2 separate regions of the Homo sapiens genome follow, and region 1 is linked to region 2. Evidence: promoter capture Hi-C in 16 types of primary human blood cells and fetal thymus (Javierre and others, 2016). All regions are on one chromosome and are shown on one strand. The core of a region is centred on a gene start or on the middle of the fragment in contact, and the rest is flanking DNA. Distances in the headings are between cores, read along the strand shown.

Region 1 (2,815 bases), core at 152-2,651, 170 kb before region 2:
ACACACTCACACACACACCTTCCCCAAGGTCACATGGCTGGTAAGTGGCAGGAGGTAGAATTTGAATACAGTCAGCTTCCTTAACCACCACCAAGAATAGGATGGGTGAGCTTTTTCTATAATGGGCCAGACAGAAAACATTAGAGGTTTCTAGGTCATCTGGATTCTGTTGCAACTACTCAAATCTAGCTCAAAAGCAGCCAATGGACAATATATAAACAAATGGGTGTGGCTGTGCTTCAATAAAACTTTATTTACAAAAGCAGATAGCCATCTGGATTTGAATCATGGGCCCATAGTTTGTTGACACATGATCTAGAATAACAAATCCTTGAAGATAGTCAAGGCTTTTGGGGGGAAAACTAATAACAAGCAGAGACTTGCTCTATCAGATATCAGCACATAAAGCTACAAAAATTATTTGGAATTGCATTATATTTATGTATCAATTTAGGATGACTATGTAATTTATGTAATTTAGTTTACAGAGAATATTCATTTATGATTTTGAGTCTTCCTATTCAGGAATATGGTATTTCTCTACTGTCACTCAGATCTTGAGAAACAATTTAACAGGGTGGGGGGTGGGAAGGAGCTCCAGGCCAATTTTTAGAAGAAATCCTACCTAACACCAGACATGTAAATAGAATGTCAGAGGACCAAAACCACTAACACCCTGAGATATGTGTCAATTGCGTCCATTCAGACTTTGGTCCAGTTCTGTGAGGGACAACGGCAGGGTCGACCTAAGATGGGGCGTTTTATAGGAAATGTTTCCCATGTTAAGCTGAACACCAAAAGGCTTCACCTTCTGCGATATATGAATAGATTTAAACCCTTCCCCCACACCCAAGGAGACTAGGCTGCTGTGGGCCTCAGCAGAGCAGAAGGGTAAAGAAAGACGGCCCTGAGAATCACATCCAAAAACCAGCCCTGGCAAAGCGCAGGGGCTCACACCTATCATCCCAGCACTTTGGGGGGCTGAGGCGGGTGGATCACCTGAGGTCAGGAGTTCAAGACCAGCCTGGCCAACATGGTGAAACCCGTCTCTACTAAAAATACAAAAAATTAGCCGGGCATGATGGCAGGTGCCTGTAATCCCAGCTACTCGGGAGCCTGAGGCAGGAGAATCACTTGAACCTGGGAGGCGGAGATTGCAGTGGGCCAAGATCGCACCACTGTACTCCAGCCTGGCAACAGAGCGAGACTCTGTCTCAAATAAAACAAAAACAAAAACAAAAAACAAATACGTACAGTTAAAAGACTTAAGTCACAACATACATCCATGAGCAATTTTAGATGGCAGCATTCCCAAAGCCATCCACCCCTCCCAAGCAGTGCACAATAGCCTCTTCCTGATGACTTAGGCTGCCCATTGTGACCACCGGTGACTGCAGCTTGACATCATAGTATATCCGTGAGTCAAGCGGCTGTGGGTTTTTGGCTCTTGCATCTGCTATAGTTCTGTCTCGGGTGCCATTTGCTAACTCTGTTCTCTGTGTAGCTGCTTTTGGCAGCTCCTCATCTCTCTTCTAATCCACCACTCACAGTCCTAGAGAACAGACCACAAGTTAAGACCGTCACCTACAGAATCCCAAGGGCCAAAACTGGGCAGAGGACAACTCCATCCTTCTTACAAAAGGGCTTCTCCACAAGAAGCATTTCCGTTAGACTCTAGCAGTGAGATACCCTGCTTCAAGAATTTCTCATGGAGCCAGAAGCCTTTGAAATTTGCCCTTATGATCCTCACCACCGAATCCCACTCAGCAGATTCCAGTACCACCTGGCATCGTGCAGGAGAAAGAACCCCAAGAAAGCCAAAAAGATGGCCACCTGCAAATACAACGCCTGCCACGTGGTCCCCATCAAAAATCTGGAGGAACATGAGGCTGTTTGTGTCAACAGGAGCGCTGTGGAAGAAGAGGACACCGAGAACCCTCTGAAAGTCAGTCCTCCTAGTTCAGAGCAGAACGATGACACCCAGCAGGTCTCACCCTGCCTTCCCAGCCCCGATATCTGGAATGTCGATGGCGCTAATTGCCAGCATGTGTTTGTCCTTAAGACTTTTTTTCCTCAAAAGGTTGTTTGTGAAAATGACACGAAAGAGTCAGCAAGAGAGACCAGTCCCCAGAAGATCCTCAGACCAGGACAGTAAACTGCCAGCTGAGGAAGGAGCACACGCCTCATCAATGCATGGAAGAACGTGCAATGCATCAGAATAAAAGACATGCAAAGTAAACTACCCTGGGCTACCTCTTTTTTTAACCTGGCAGATTGATAAATATCAAAAGGCTTAAAATACTCTGCTGGCAAAGGTAGGGCAAAATGGGCACTTTCATAACATTGGTGAGAATGTCAGTTGGTACAACCTCCACAGAGGGCAATTTGACAATAGCTATAAACATTATCAATGCATACAGGCTTTGATTGAGCAATTCCACTTCCAGGCTTCATTCTGTAAATATAATCACACATGTGGAAAATGAGCTAAGTACTAGCTTATTCACTGCAGCATTATTTGCAGCAGCAAAAGAGTTAGAAATGAGCCAGGTGTGTTGAATCACAGCTGTAGCCTGTTACTCTGGGAGCTGAGGCGAGAGGATCGCTTGAGTTCAGCCTGGGCAACATAGTGAGATCCTGTCTTAAGCAACAAAAAAAAAAGTCAAAAATGACCTAAATATCCATTAAAAGGGCCTGATTAAAAATAAGTTATACTGCAGCCATACAACAAAATATTATGCCGCCTTAAAAAAAGTGAGGAAGCTCTTTCTGTGCTGATATAGAAAGGTTGAGACACACTGTTGAGCTCAGAGGT
Region 2 (2,700 bases), core at 165-2,664:
TGCAACCTCCGCCTCCTGGGTTCAAGCAATTCTCCTGTCTCAGCCTCCCAAATAGCTGGGATTACGGGCATGTGTCACGACGCTCGGCTAATTTTTGTATTTTTAGTCGAGACGAGGTTCCACCATGTTGGCTAGGCTGGTCTCAAACTCCTGACCTCAGGTGATCCGCCTGCCTCGGCCTCCCAAAGTGTTAGGATTACGGGTGTGAGCCACTGTACCCGGCCGGTTATTTTAACTTTTATCTTTGTACTATTGTGTAAAGCTTCTCAAGATATTGCTGTTGAGTTAATATTCAAGTACTGAGTTCCTGGTGGGAACCTGGCATGCCCATGGCCCATCACACCCTCCCCCATCACCTTGACTGTGACCCCCATGCCTAAGCAGCCCTCAGTTCCTAAGGCTTTCTTCTCTCTCGCACCACGGTGTTCTAATTTTCTGGCCAGAAGCTGGACATCAATATATTCTCCTAACTCTTCAGACTCCGCAAACTCCCACTCAAGCCCCTCCATGAGTCCTCAAGCCTGTCCCTTTCCTAACTTGCCACAGCCCAGACTTGCCTCCCTCTGTCCCACTGTTACATGGACCTGCTTACAGCTCCCTGGCCCTGCCAAATGGGGTGTGGGGGTGGGACAGTGTCACACAGTTCTCTCTCCTTGGAACATTCCCCAACAAACCTGGTCTTTCCAGCTCACCTTTTCACCTGTTCTCATTGCCTTTCCTGGAAGCCAGATGACCCTCCGATCCCATGCACCCTCTCCTGCTGCTGTCCCTGTCTTCACTGTAACTTGTTCATTTACACGCCTGCCCAGTTCAAGTGCCAACTTGATCTTATTTTGTTCCCACAACCCCACGGGTTAGGAACTATCATCGTCCCTGTTTCAAGGAGGAGAAAACTGAGGCAAGGACAGGGAAGTGACATGATCAAGACAGTTAATAAATGACATAACCAGGATTTGAACCCAGGCCATCTGACTGCAAAGCCCACGGCCTGGAATTTCAGGAAGACAATAGAAAGCTAGAAAAGGAAAAAATGAAGTCAGTGGGAAGGAAGTGAGGATGTAAGTTGGTTAGTTAAGGAGGAAGAAAATTAGGCAGCTGAGAAAGCAGATAGTTGGGAGGGAAGGAAGGAAAGGAAGGAGGGAGAAGGGAAAGAAGTCGCCAAGGAAGAAAGGAAGGAAAGAAAGTAAACAGGTACTAGGAAAGATGTTAGCTAGGTAACTAGTCAATCTGGAGACCAATAGGCGAGCAGGCAGGTATCCTGCTCACAGGTGAGCCTCTCACCTGAAAACTCCAGGTTCCTGCTCAGGTCCTGGGGAGCAGCCCCATGCACGGCTCTGCCCTCTTCTCTCTCTTCATGGTCCTTCTGACTGGAGGCACAATCCTGACTTGTCAAGCAACCTTCCCAGTCAGGAATGACCTGTCACCCACTCGCTCCTGGCTCCCAAACCGGCTCAAGTTCAACCTCCCAGCCCTGCCTGCTGGAAGCTGGCTTCGGGGCCTTCCAGTTACTAATTAACCACTGGACCTGAATTACCAAGCTGGCTGCACACACTGGCTCCTGGATGGGCCCTGCCTGGGGGACTCTCTGAATTTTTTAAAGCACAACTTGTTATGTGACCATGGGCAACTGACTTCAGCTCCCTGAGCCTCATGTGAATTGGTGACGGATGGTGTGTCCTGCTGGAGGGACGGTTTCTGAAGTCCCTTTCAACACTGGAACTGCCGCACTCTCTCAAGGTCCAGCTTAAGTGCTGACTCCTACACAGCCTTCCCTGATTCCCTCCGCTGAGTCATCTTCCCTTTCGCTTGGAACCTAGTGAACCAGCAACTGAAAGGTTGGTCTCACACAACACCCTCCTCCACCCCTTCCCTAATGGGGGCCACCAGCCCCTATGTTCAGTCATTTCATGGAAACTTCCAGGACTGGGCAGCTCATTTCCCCCTGAGCCAGCCTCTGGCAATTTCTTGTGTTAAGCCGAAGACTGCCACCCACAGCCTACCCGACCAAGCACTGCCCTGGCACCGTTCTGGGAGAATCACAGCTGAGTTGAAACCTATGCCCCACTCTGCCCTTCAGAGATTTGAGGCTCAGGAACCAGAGATGAGTTCACCCTGGAGAACAGGGAAGGCTTTCTCGGGGGTTGACCCAAAGCTTCCCAGGCCCTGGGTTCTTTTTTTTTTTTCTTTGAGACAGAGTCTCGCTCTGTCACCCAGGCTGGAGTGCAGTGGCGTGATCTCAGCTCACTGCAAGCTCCGCCTCCCAGGTTCACGCCATTCTCCGGCCTCAACCTCCCGAGTAGCTGGGACTACAGGCGCCCACCACCACGCCCAGCTAATTTTTGTATTTTTAGTAGAGATGGGGTTTCACTGCATTAGCCAGGACGGTATCGATCTCCTGACCTTGTGATCTGCCCGCCTCGGCCTCCCAAAGTGCTGGGATTACAGGCGTGAGCCACCGCGCCTGGCCGGCCCTGGGTTCTAACTCAGGGCACAGGCAGGGCCTGGACCCCTGGACAGGTAAGGAAAGCTCTGCCCAGTGACCCCTCCTGAGCAGGCTGACTTTCACACTGCTTCCTCCATTGCCTTTCCATTAAAATGTCAACAACTTTCTGGTAATTCTGGTGCCTTAAACACCGGCTGCTCTGCTGTGCTCCGGAGGAGCCCTGCATGGCCACACACCCCACCTCCACCAACACACAT

What was found. Contacts are between HindIII fragments. The CHiCAGO score rates a contact against its expected background, and 5 or more counts as called.
Region 1: the fragment with the promoter of GTSF1L here is called in contact with the fragment with the promoter of SGK2 in region 2 in 4 of 17 cell types (endothelial precursors, total B cells, megakaryocytes and 1 more); the score reaches 7.6 in endothelial precursors.

Annotation. Positions count from the first base shown.
Region 1 is chr20:43,725,588-43,728,402 of GRCh38, reverse strand. It overlaps GTSF1L (gametocyte specific factor 1 like), which reads left to right and starts at 1,401. Exons shown (of 1, transcript NM_176791.4): 1 at 1,401-2,239. The coding sequence starts at 1,709. The coding sequence ends at 2,155. The HindIII fragment of the contact is 9,111 bases long and covers 1-2,815 here.
Region 2 is chr20:43,557,741-43,560,440 of GRCh38, reverse strand. It overlaps SGK2 (serum/glucocorticoid regulated kinase 2), which reads right to left and starts at 1,414. Exons shown (of 13, transcript NM_170693.3): 1 at 1,282-1,414. The HindIII fragment of the contact is 1,890 bases long and covers 265-2,154 here.